Regions from separate parts of the Homo sapiens genome. Here regions 1, 2 and 3 are each linked to region 4. Evidence: promoter capture Hi-C in 16 types of primary human blood cells and fetal thymus (Javierre and others, 2016). All regions are on one chromosome and are shown on one strand. The core of a region is centred on a gene start or on the middle of the fragment in contact, and the rest is flanking DNA. Distances in the headings are between cores, read along the strand shown. Region 1 overlaps SACS (sacsin molecular chaperone). Region 2 overlaps SACS (sacsin molecular chaperone). Region 3 overlaps SACS (sacsin molecular chaperone). Region 4 holds the start of MIPEP (mitochondrial intermediate peptidase).

Evidence for each region. Contacts are between HindIII fragments. The CHiCAGO score rates a contact against its expected background, and 5 or more counts as called.
Region 1: a fragment that was not itself captured here is called in contact with the fragment with the promoter of MIPEP in region 4 in 7 of 17 cell types (naive CD8 T cells, total B cells, naive CD4 T cells and 4 more); the score reaches 8.0 in naive CD8 T cells.
Region 2: a contact is called between a fragment that was not itself captured here and the fragment with the promoter of MIPEP in region 4, in 1 of 17 cell types (naive B cells). The highest score is 5.7, in naive B cells.
Region 3: a contact is called between a fragment that was not itself captured here and the fragment with the promoter of MIPEP in region 4, in 1 of 17 cell types (activated CD4 T cells). The highest score is 5.9, in activated CD4 T cells.

Annotation. Positions count from the first base shown.
Region 1 is chr13:23,364,321-23,367,020 of GRCh38, reverse strand. SACS (sacsin molecular chaperone) reads left to right here. Exons shown (of 10, transcript NM_014363.6): 6 at 1,744-1,855. Among named protein-coding and RNA genes, the nearest start is that of SACS-AS1, 53 kb to the left of the region's middle. The HindIII fragment of the contact is 169 bases long and covers 1,202-1,370 here.
Region 2 is chr13:23,328,677-23,331,451 of GRCh38, reverse strand. SACS (sacsin molecular chaperone) reads left to right here. Exons shown (of 10, transcript NM_014363.6): 10 at 1-2,622. The coding sequence ends at 1,316. Among named protein-coding and RNA genes, the nearest start is that of SACS-AS1, 89 kb to the left of the region's middle. The HindIII fragment of the contact is 209 bases long and covers 1,390-1,598 here.
Region 3 is chr13:23,347,746-23,350,681 of GRCh38, reverse strand. The region is part of intron 9 of SACS (sacsin molecular chaperone); the gene reads left to right. Among named protein-coding and RNA genes, the nearest start is that of SACS-AS1, 70 kb to the left of the region's middle. The HindIII fragment of the contact is 897 bases long and covers 1,111-2,007 here.
Region 4 is chr13:23,887,953-23,890,700 of GRCh38, reverse strand. MIPEP (mitochondrial intermediate peptidase) reads left to right here and starts at 1,301. Exons shown (of 19, transcript NM_005932.4): 1 at 1,301-1,569. The coding sequence starts at 1,381. PCOTH (prostate and testis expressed opposite C1QTNF9B and MIPEP) reads right to left here and starts at 1,833. Exons shown (of 4, transcript NR_172510.1): 1 at 1,690-1,833; 2 at 659-701. RefSeq lists enhancers at 902-961, 1,021-1,521. The HindIII fragment of the contact is 13,692 bases long and covers 1-2,079 here.

The DNA.
Region 1 (2,700 bases), core at 37-2,536, 520 kb after region 4:
CGCGCCTTCTGCTTTGCTTATAGATATATTTGTATTGTAGCCAGTTCAATGTAATCTTTGTTCCTTGGATGTTGTGGTAGAATTAGACTGTTTTAGATTTAATAGGAGTCTTAGAAATCACCAAGACCTACACCACCACCTTCTATGGTATTTGTGTTTGCTGAAACAGGTCCAGAGATCTTAGTGGCTTGCCCAAGACCAAATACAAAATGTATTGTTGCTGTTTCCCAGAGTTAGTTTACAAACAATCTCTCAGGATTGCAATTTAGGGGAAAAGCTTCCTATCCTATTTTTTATTCAACTTGAGAATGAGTGGAACCTGGGACTTAGATTTTATCTTTAGTTTTCTGCCTCTCTGCTCCCTAAAGTACACATAAATAATAAATAGATACCTGAATGAAAACAAGGTCGAACATCTAAAGTGCTATCATTTTGTAAGTTAACATTGTTTTTCACTACCTATTTAATTCTTATTTCCATCCTTCATATTATTATAATATCCTAATGTAAATAAGATTGTTAATTTTTAGGGATTCTCTGGGATTGAATGAGGCCTAAAAAATTAAAATCCCATGAGAAATAGTTAGTTACGTAACAAGGAAGAATCACTAGCTGATAATGAGGCTGCAGGAGGCACGACTTAGCTGTTCATGTTTGGGGTGGAACAGCTGGTGGGTACCACACTCCAGCCCTTTGGGATGCACTGGGTGAACTGAGCACAATCTCAGAACTGACTTTTCACTTCTGCTCCCTCAGTCTCCTTGTAGTTATTTTGTTTCATGTAGTCATCGTACCACCTCTCTACTCTGATGTAGGCATCACTGTTGACATTGTTGTAGTATCAGTTAAAGTGCTCTTCAATTTTTGCCCATCTGTACCTCCAATTTAGTGATCCCAAGGCTCTGGGGAAGTAAAAAAGCTCTTTTGATGATCATGGGGTTGGATCTAGGAGCTGATTCTTGATTCAGATTCTGGAGCTCCCTTCAAACTGAACGGAGCCCAGCGTGATTTTAGTAGGTGTGCAGAAGTGATTGGGGTTGTTAGGATTGGAAATTTTGTTGAGGCAAATCTTGCAGTTTGCCCTTTCCTTTCTACATTACGGGGAGCTGGTCACCCTTCCACTCACCCACCATTCACCAAACAAATGGTAGTGCTTTCTTCTTGATGAAAGGAATGAGTCAGTCCTGACCATCTGGAAGCTTTCAGTTTAGTGCAGGACAAAGACATTTTTATATCTCAGGCTCTCAAGAAAGCAGCCAATTGAAGGGTATATATAGATTGCTACTATTTGGTTTTATTGTTTTTCTGTGGAAAGGTAAGTTTAGTAAGCAAAGGATAAAAAAGGTCTATTTTTGGCAATCACTCAAGCTTAAGTTACCTGCCACACAGGACGATATGTGCAGCTTTTGGAAATAGAATAATTTCCTTTGAACAAAAGCTTTGGGTAGATTGTAAATATGAGACAGTTATAAATAGGGCCCAGGATTAATTTGCTAAGTGATAGCAAATTAAAAGACAAAATTTAAGTGCAAATAATTGGAGAAGGACTTTTCAACCATACTGTCACATCTATGTAACAATTACTTTCAGTAGTAGCCTCACCAGATCTTAAAGGTAATGTTGCAAATAGTGGGTTTCCTTTATTTAAGTATATTAACTTCTTAAATATTATAGATAAATACAAAGATGAGCAGTAGATTACTGTGTTATTAATTACTATTTTTTGGTATATTTTTTGGTTAGGAATTAATTCAGAATGCAGAAGATGCTGGGGCGACAGAAGTTAAATTTTTATATGATGAAACTCAATACGGAACAGAGACTCTTTGGTCAAAAGATATGGCGCCATATCAGGGTAAGAATCAATAATTAGGAACAAATTTTATTGTATGCACTAACAGGCAGTTTTTAATGATTAATAATGCTTTGTTTAATGAACAGTCTATCATTTGTACTTTTTGGCATGTTTATGTCCACTTCTTCAGATGTTTTTCTCTGCTTTTGGTGGGAAGGTGTCTCCACCAGTTGGTATTTTTAGAGAACAAAGAATAAAATCTGAAAACTCAAAATGACAAGCAATGTAATGACCAAAGCCTCTTATTCTATTCAAACAACTTGTATTTTATATTATCAGTAGGATAAAGGGACACCATTTATGTATAGTAACACTTTCCTGCATTTGGAAAGATGTTGTGAAAGGCCATGCTTTTGTGTATTTTCCGCTTTAGGAGTACCCTCGACATTGTTTGGAAGTTGGGTGGGAAGAAAGATTGAAGGAGAGGAGAGAACAAGGAAAATGAAAGGAAACATGATAAGAAAGCCATAAACTAATAAATTATTAATCCAATAAGAACCCTAACCAATAGACTCCTAATATCTCACTTCTACTCCGGGGAGCTTTGGTGTCAAAAAGAATGTTCATAAATTGTAGTATACCTCTGGCTGGGTGCGGTGGCTCACGCCTGTAATCCTAGCACTTTGGGAGGCTGAGGTGGGCAGATCACCTGAGGTCAGGAGTTTGGGACCAGCCTGGCGAACGTGGCAAAACCCCGTCTCTACTAAAAATATAAAAATTAGCTGGGCGTGGTGGCAGACGCCTGTAATCCCAGCTACTCAGGAGGCTGAGGCCGGAGAATCGCTTGAACTCGGGAGGCGGAGGTTGTAGTGAGCCGAGATCACATCACTTCAATTTAGTATACC
Region 2 (2,775 bases), core at 245-2,744, 560 kb after region 4:
AATATGACTCTTCGGAGCCATCAAAACTGGAACTTCCAATGCCTGGCACACCAATTCCTGCTGAAATTCATTACACTCTGCTTATGGACCCAATGAATGTTTTTTACCCGGGAGAATATGTTGGGTACCTTGTTGATGCTGAAGGTGGTGATATCTATGGATCATACCAGCCAACATACACATATGCAATTATTGTACAAGAAGTTGAAAGAGAAGATGCTGACAATTCTAGTTTTCTAGGAAAGATATATCAGATAGATATTGGTTATAGTGAATATAAAATAGTTAGCTCTCTTGATCTGTATAAGTTTTCAAGACCTGAGGAAAGCTCTCAAAGCAGGGACAGTGCTCCTTCTACACCAACCAGCCCCACTGAGTTCCTCACCCCTGGCCTGAGAAGCATTCCTCCTCTTTTCTCTGGTAGAGAGAGCCACAAGACTTCTTCCAAACATCAGTCCCCCAAAAAGCTTAAGGTTAATTCTTTACCAGAAATCTTAAAAGAAGTGACATCTGTGGTGGAGCAAGCATGGAAGCTTCCAGAATCGGAACGAAAAAAGATTATTAGGCGGTTGTATTTGAAATGGCATCCTGACAAAAATCCAGAGAACCATGACATTGCCAATGAAGTTTTTAAACATTTGCAGAATGAAATCAACAGATTAGAAAAACAGGCTTTTCTAGATCAAAATGCAGACAGGGCCTCCAGACGAACATTTTCAACCTCAGCATCCCGATTTCAGTCAGACAAATACTCATTTCAGAGATTCTATACTTCATGGAATCAAGAAGCAACGAGCCATAAATCTGAAAGACAGCAACAGAACAAAGAAAAATGCCCCCCTTCAGCCGGACAGACTTACTCTCAAAGGTTCTTTGTTCCTCCCACTTTCAAGTCGGTTGGCAATCCAGTGGAAGCACGCAGATGGCTAAGACAAGCCAGAGCAAACTTCTCAGCTGCCAGGAATGACCTTCATAAAAATGCCAATGAGTGGGTGTGCTTTAAATGTTACCTTTCTACCAAGTTAGCTTTGATTGCAGCTGACTATGCTGTGAGGGGAAAGTCTGATAAAGATGTAAAACCAACTGCACTTGCTCAGAAAATAGAGGAATATAGTCAGCAACTTGAAGGACTGACAAATGATGTTCACACATTGGAAGCTTATGGTGTAGACAGTTTAAAAACAAGATACCCTGATTTGCTTCCCTTTCCTCAGATCCCAAATGACAGGTTCACTTCTGAGGTTGCTATGAGGGTGATGGAATGTACTGCCTGTATCATAATAAAACTTGAAAATTTTATGCAACAAAAAGTGTGAAGATATTTAACGAAAAAAAAGGTAGATCTTGAATGTGTTGTAGCACGAATAAATTGCTGTACTTCATTAAGCTTCATTGCCAATTAGCTAGGAATTGTTAAGCACATTGCAGATTGTTCTTGGAGAATTCTGGAGTTGTTATGAACATGAATACCAACGGAAAACCTTAACTGAATCTAAAAGAAAACTATTTTGAAGATGGTGGTGAGCTGCAAAATAGCTGGATGGATTTGAATGATTGGGATGATACATCATTGAACTGCACTTTATATAACCAAAGCTTAGCAGTTTGTTAGATAAGAGTCTATGTATGTCTCTGGTTAGGATGAAGTTAATTTTATGTTTTTAACATGGTATTTTTGAAGGAGCTAATGAAACACTGGACATATAATTGGTTTAAACATAAGGGGAATTAAGTCTTTGTAGTCTGTCATTTTTTTAAGTGGATCCTCTTGGATGCGTTATTTTCTCATCAGCTGGCTCTGATCATGAATTTGTTGTAATTTTATGTTGTACTCAGTGCATTTAAGAAATGGTAGAGTATTTTAATCCTATTACTTGACTAAGAGTGTGAAGGTAGTACTTTTTAGAGTGCACTGAGTGCACTTTACATCTTTATTTAAATTTTTTTTTAACATCTTATGTTTACAGGCTTCCTGTTTGATGAAGATAGCAACGGAAAACTCAAAATGGTGGCAGTTCTTATTACCAGTTGTTAGTATTGTTTCTGGAAACTGCTTGCCAAGACAACATTTATTAACTGTTAGAACACTTGCTTTATGTTTGTGTGTACATATTTTCCACAAATGTTATAATTTATATAGTGTGGTTGAACAGGATGCAATCTTTTGTTGTCTAAAGGTGCTGCAGTTAAAAAAAAAACAACCTTTTCTTTCAATATGGCATGTAGTGGAGTTTTTTTAACTTTAAAAACATCAAAAATTGTTAAAATCATTGTGTTATCTAGTAGTTTATAATTATCGGCTTATATTTCCCCATGAATGATCAGAACTGACATTTAATTCATGTTTGTCTCGCCATGCTTCTTTACTTTAACATATTTCTTTTGCAGAATGTAAAAGGTAATGATAATTAGTTTATATAAGTGTACTGGCTGTAAATGATGCTAAATATACTTTATGCAATTAAGGGCTTACAGAACATGTTGAAACTTTTTTTACTTTTATTGGGAATAAGGAATGTTTGCACCTCCACATTTTATTGCTTCTGGATGTGAAATCATGTAATTATTTCTGCTGTTATATAAAGTGCCATACTTTTAATAAAGGAAAATGTACATATGAAATCATCGTAATGGGTGTTTCCTGAGAAATAGTTCATTGGAAATCAAACTTAACATCTTAATATTAAGTTTTAATGTGTGTGTATGTGTGTATTTATTGGAAATATTAGGAAAATATTTTCCTGTATATTTTCATGCTGGAATTATAGATTTTTA
Region 3 (2,936 bases), core at 310-2,809, 540 kb after region 4:
ACTCCATTGCTTTGCTGACACAGAGCACTATGGAATTCTGTTTATGAGTGATCAGTAAACACTGATTGGCCAGTCTTGGAAGTACTACTGCATAAAATGGAAACATCATATGTTTTTTCTGATATGGAAACTTTTCCTCTAATTCTGTAGCTCAAACAAAATTTGTCACATTATTTAATAATTGTACCTTTTCCTTGTATTACATTTAAAATCCTTAGCTAAATATTGAGCTACTGCTTGTATTTTTAGTGTTTACTTCTACTGCCCCTTTTATTAGCAGTTAAATATGTTTCACTATATTTCATTTCAGGAAAAACAAAACAGACCTCCACCTTGATTTTCTTTCTTGTATTCTATCATAGTCCAGCTTCCGGAAAGAGTTGTCTTATTGTCTGTACTTCCTCCTTATTTATTATCACTCCAAACAGACTTTTGCTTCCACTGTCATTCCACTAAAATAGTCTGGCTGACGTCACTAGTTAATGATTTTTCTGTTACTCAGCTCAGTGGATTTTTCTGTTTCTTTTACCTGATCTCCCAGAAGCTTGGTATTCCTCTTTGAAGCCCTCAGCCATGATGATACCATTCCTTCTTGGCATTCACTGATTTTGCCTGCTTCTCAGAATTATTTGTGAACCTCTGTTCCTCACTTCACTCCCTAAATACGTGTTAGTGTGGGGGCTCCTTCCTCAGCTCTTTTACTTTGTTCCTTTCCTTGAATACATTCATCCACTCCCATGAAAGTGTTAGTGACCACCATATCTTCAGTCACCACCCTAGTCTTCAGAGAGGTAGTGTAGCAGAGATTAAAAACCTGGATTTTGTAGTTACCCAGATCTGGGCTTAAACTTCACTCCTCTATTGTGTGACTTTGAACAAATTTTCTACCCTCTCTGAGCCCCTGTTTCCTCATCAGTAACATGGTAATACAGTACTATCCTTCTAAGGGTATATCTCAAGGTCCCCAGGATTTGATTACAGAAAATTCAGGATTGCTTCACTGCAAGGATAATGAAATAAGGATTGAGCAGAGGATGGGAGCAACCACACCTTGCCAGTTGAGTTGTATCCAAGTTTGTGTTATTGCAGCAGATCAGGTTATTGAAAGCTTCATTGTAATATTTTACTCACAGCAGGCATTATGCTGAAGATCGAATGATGAATACGTAATACATATAGTTTAACATAATATCCGGCACTTAATATAATACTGACAAATGGTAGCTATTGTTAGCATTTTGCACTTGGAATCCCATAAGTATTTCAAAATCAATATTGCAAAACTTTAGTCTTCATCCTCTCCCCAAATCTGTTTCTCATTTTGAGTGATCCCACTGAAAATAACACTACTGTCCACAAGATTGCTCAAGAATGAATCCTTAAATTTTCTTCTTTGTTCCCCACAGTCTCCAGGATCTGTTGACTAAATTTTCTGTGCCAGTCCCTTGGTCTTACTCCACTGCCTATTACAGGTCCTCTAATTTCTCGTAATGTTGTTACTGGACTCTTGCAGTTGATGTCCCTGTCTACAGCGCTTGGGCTTCATCTGATCATGTCACCCTCCTGCTGCAGGTTTTCCAGTGGACATTGAATCTATCAGGATAAATCTAGCCCTGCTAGCATGAACTAGGGGACTTTCCATGATTGTAAACTTCCATGATTTTGGAGTGCTGTCTCACTGGCCTTGGTGCATGCAAGCGCCCTCTTCTGTTCTAATTGCCCTCTTCTGTTCTAATTATACAAGCACTTGTAGGTTGATGAACTTGAATCCTCCCTATATTTCATGAGAGCAGAGAGACCTGTCAGATTTGTTACCACCATCTAGCACAGTGCCTACTTCAGTGTAGGTGCTCAGTATTTTTTTTCCTGCATGAAAATTTTCTCATAGCTGCCCTTTTGTACATGGTGTTCCTTTTGCTTAGAATACTTTCTTTCCATCCTCTACTTTGCCCAGCTAATGTTTATTCATCATTCAGTACTGAGCTCATGTGTCACCTCCAGGAAGCTTTCTTTGACATCTTGCCCTGTGCCTCACCCCTGCCCTGCAGTCTGAGGTGAATGCCTCTCTTTTGCTCTTGGAACCCAGTACATAGTCCATATGATCCTCTTTGCTTTATTAGAATCATGTTTTTACTGTGCTACACTGCAACATCCTTGAGAGCAAGGGCAATCTTTATTTTTATATTTCCAAGGTCTGGCCGAGAGCCTGCTTGCCAAGTTTGACTGGATAAGTTGATGCTTCAGCTGCTGGGCTGGGTGGGGACCGCATGGAGGAGATGGGGCGCAGAGGCCAAAAGGCAAATCTCTTTCTTAGTGTCTGTGAGTTAATAGTTCTCTTCAAATCAGTGTCTTCTGTAATCTTGTTTATTCTTTACAACCATGAGATAATAGAGCCTGTATCTCCATTTGAGAGATTGAGACATTGAAGCTCAAAGAAATTGAGGGATTTAAATGACTTGCTTGAGTTGCAGAGTTGAAGCTATGATTTTTGTTTTTTTAATTTCCAGGTCTGAATTATTTCTGTATTAAGTTGCTTAAGTAAATGGATGGATATCAGAAATTGGAGAATAGTTAGAAGAGCAGGTAAATGGATTTTGGATGAAGAAAAAGGAAACAAGAACAGTTTAGTGGTACAGATGCTTGGTGTCGGGTCTTATTTATAATTTTTAAAATTTTCATACTTATTTATTAGATGAGACCAAAATCCGTAACCTTTCCTATGAGGCACTTCATTAGCTGGCTCCATTTTCTGGGTGTTATGAAGATGCCTGGTACATGGAAGGTTCTATTGATATTTGCTATTTTTAATCTCCTTCCCTTAGTTCCATGCTTTTTCCTGTTTGGAGGACAGCATGTTCTGTCCCTCCCTCAGGTGTGATACATGTGGCTTCCTTGCCAACTCCTCCATTCACTACCTCTGCTCATCTTTCATGCAA
Region 4 (2,748 bases), core at 52-2,551:
AGCTATTTGTCCTGGTGCTTTCCCTCCCATTTTGCTCATTTTCTAACCTAGGTTTTAATCACCATTCTATCCAACAAATCATTGTTTGATCATTATTTGCCAGACATGAATCTCTACTTGTTTTCTAGGATCGCCCTAATAAAGTACACAAACTGGGAGTCTTTAAACAACAGAAACGGACTTTCTCACAGTTCTGTAGGCTGGAAGTTTGAGATCACCGTAGCAGCAGGGCCATCCTCCCTCCAAAGGGGATACAGGAGGATGCAGCCTTGCTGCTTCCAGCTTCTGGCAGCTGGTGGCAGCATCACTCCAGTCCCCGCCTCCATCTTCAGGTGGCTGTCCTCCTCCTGTATCAGCCAAATTTTCCTCTTCTTACAAGAACAGCTTCCCTAATCTAGTATGACCCATCTTAATCATAATTGCAAACTCCATATTTTCAAATAAGGTCACATGTACAGGCACCGAGGGTTAGGACTTCAGCATCTATTTTGGGAGACACAGTTCAACCCAATCTGCCCTCTGGTTCCCAAAATTGATTTCCTTCTCATGTGCAAAATACATTTTCGCACCATGTCAACATTACCAAAAGTCTTAACACTTTCCGCATCAACTCCTCTCACCATCTACATCATTTAAATAAGCTACAGAGGAGACTTACTGTGTGATTCATCGTGTGGCAAAATGTCTCTCCATCTGTGATCCTGTGAAGCGAGACGAGTTAATCCACTTCTAAAAGACCGGGGGTTGGAGGGGGAGACAGGCATAGGGTAGACAATCCATTCCAAAAGAGAGAAAGGGGAAGGAAAAAAGGGTTCACGGGTCCCAGGCAATTCTGAAACCCTGGAGGGAAAATCCCATTAGACTTCTTTCACTATTTCCCATCTAAAATTTTTAACTGAGCTATGCAAGAGTAAAAAGTTACCGGACAGAGACACCAAACAGAGAAGTGCAGGATAAATTTACCAAGAGAGTAGGTTAAAAGGGAAACTTCTCCTTCAGGCCTATGGTGGGCATTTCTTGTTTACTCAAGTACCTGCCGTCTCTCAAAGAATATCTAATGTCCACTGGAATTCGAATATGTCATGATTTTACTCGCGCCCACCCCTAGTCAACTTGGGAGGGAAGCGCAACCCTAGCCTTTTCTTACTCTGGACACAGGGGGCGGTAAACCGGGAGGGCGGCCGAGAAGGCGAGGGGGAGCGACGCTCTTGCTCTCTGGACGACAACGTGCCCACGTCCTGAGGCCGCGCCCAGACCCGGAAGCGGGGCCGTCACGTGGGGCGGCGTGGGCTGCTGCCTTGGAAACGCGGAGCGCGCGCTCCCAGCGAAAGCAGCAGGGCAGGGATCTGCGTTGGAGGAAGGGACTGCTCTGGTGCTAGAATGCTGTGCGTCGGAAGGCTGGGCGGCTTGGGAGCCAGAGCAGCAGCTCTGCCGCCCCGCCGGGCGGGCCGGGGAAGCCTCGAAGCCGGGATCCGGGCCCGAAGGGTCAGCACCAGCTGGTCTCCCGTGGGCGCCGCCTTCAATGTCAAGCCCCAGGGCAGCCGCTTGGACCTGTTCGGCGAGCGCCGGGTGAGCGGCGCAGGAGGAGCTCCCCTCAGTCCCCGAGCTAAGCCGACCCCTGCTCCGCGCGGCCAGCAACAATCAGGGCGAGATTGTTTGGGCCTGGGAGGAGGCGAGCAGCGAACCCACCTTTTACAGTGGCGTCTTGTGTGCGCTCTCGATGAGGGCAAGGTCACCTCTGCTTTGAGGGGCCGGGTTTAGTGGTCTCCTACCCAGAGTGTCGGGTCCGGGAACTGCTTCTGCATGAGCCCCTTGCTCCACGTGAATCTGAATAGTTCGTTCTGGCAGTGGCGGTGAATTCGTCCTGCCAGGACCCGCCCTCTGCATACACTCAGGCGCACCCCTGCTAAAGCCCTTTAGCTCCAGCGCTACAGTCCTGCCTTAAGAGGCCTATCCCTGTGCGTTCACAGGCGGCATCACATGGTCTTTTTGCAAGGACACGGCTGCCTGCAGTCGAGTAATGGTAATTTCATTAATACCTGAAATTCCATCATCTATTAATTAATTTATTTCAAAGCTTTGGGCTTTCTTGTTTTAAAACACAAAACTCTGTTGAGACGAGTCTCACTTCCCATAGTGCCATGGAATTGGTCACTTTGATTTCTTACCCCAGGAAGTCACTAGCCTGCGTTGTCTAGTGAAAGGTGAGAGGAAGGCAAGGTTGGAAAGGACTTACCTGATGCCTGTTCTACTTGGAGTTTGTACATTTTGTCCGTTTTAGGTTAAGGATTACTTTTATTTTTGCCTTTTAAAATTTCGTTATACTGTATTGCCTTATAAAGACAAGTCTAGGGTATTGTTGCACTGAGCTAAAGTGTGTGATTCTTGTTTTATCTCCATTATCAGTTTTGTCTATTTAAAAATTATTTTGTGTGAAATTTGCTACACCACCTTCCTTAAGGGTATGTAGTGTTGGTATTAACATAGTTGGTGTGAAGAGACCTACTTGTAGGCGCTGAGCAGAAAGACGTGAGGGGAAGCCTGATTTTGGGTGGATGAGATATAACTAATTTTAGCTTTTATTTTTCCCTTTTTGTATCATGATATTCGGCACTGATAGCAGATTTTCAAATTTTAGAATTGATTTTTGCCTTGAAAAAAAAAAAGCCTTATTCAGTTTTTTAGCATTATGGTCACTGGTAATCCGATAGTTAGAATTCCCGAGAGCAATATGGGCAGGTTGTACTG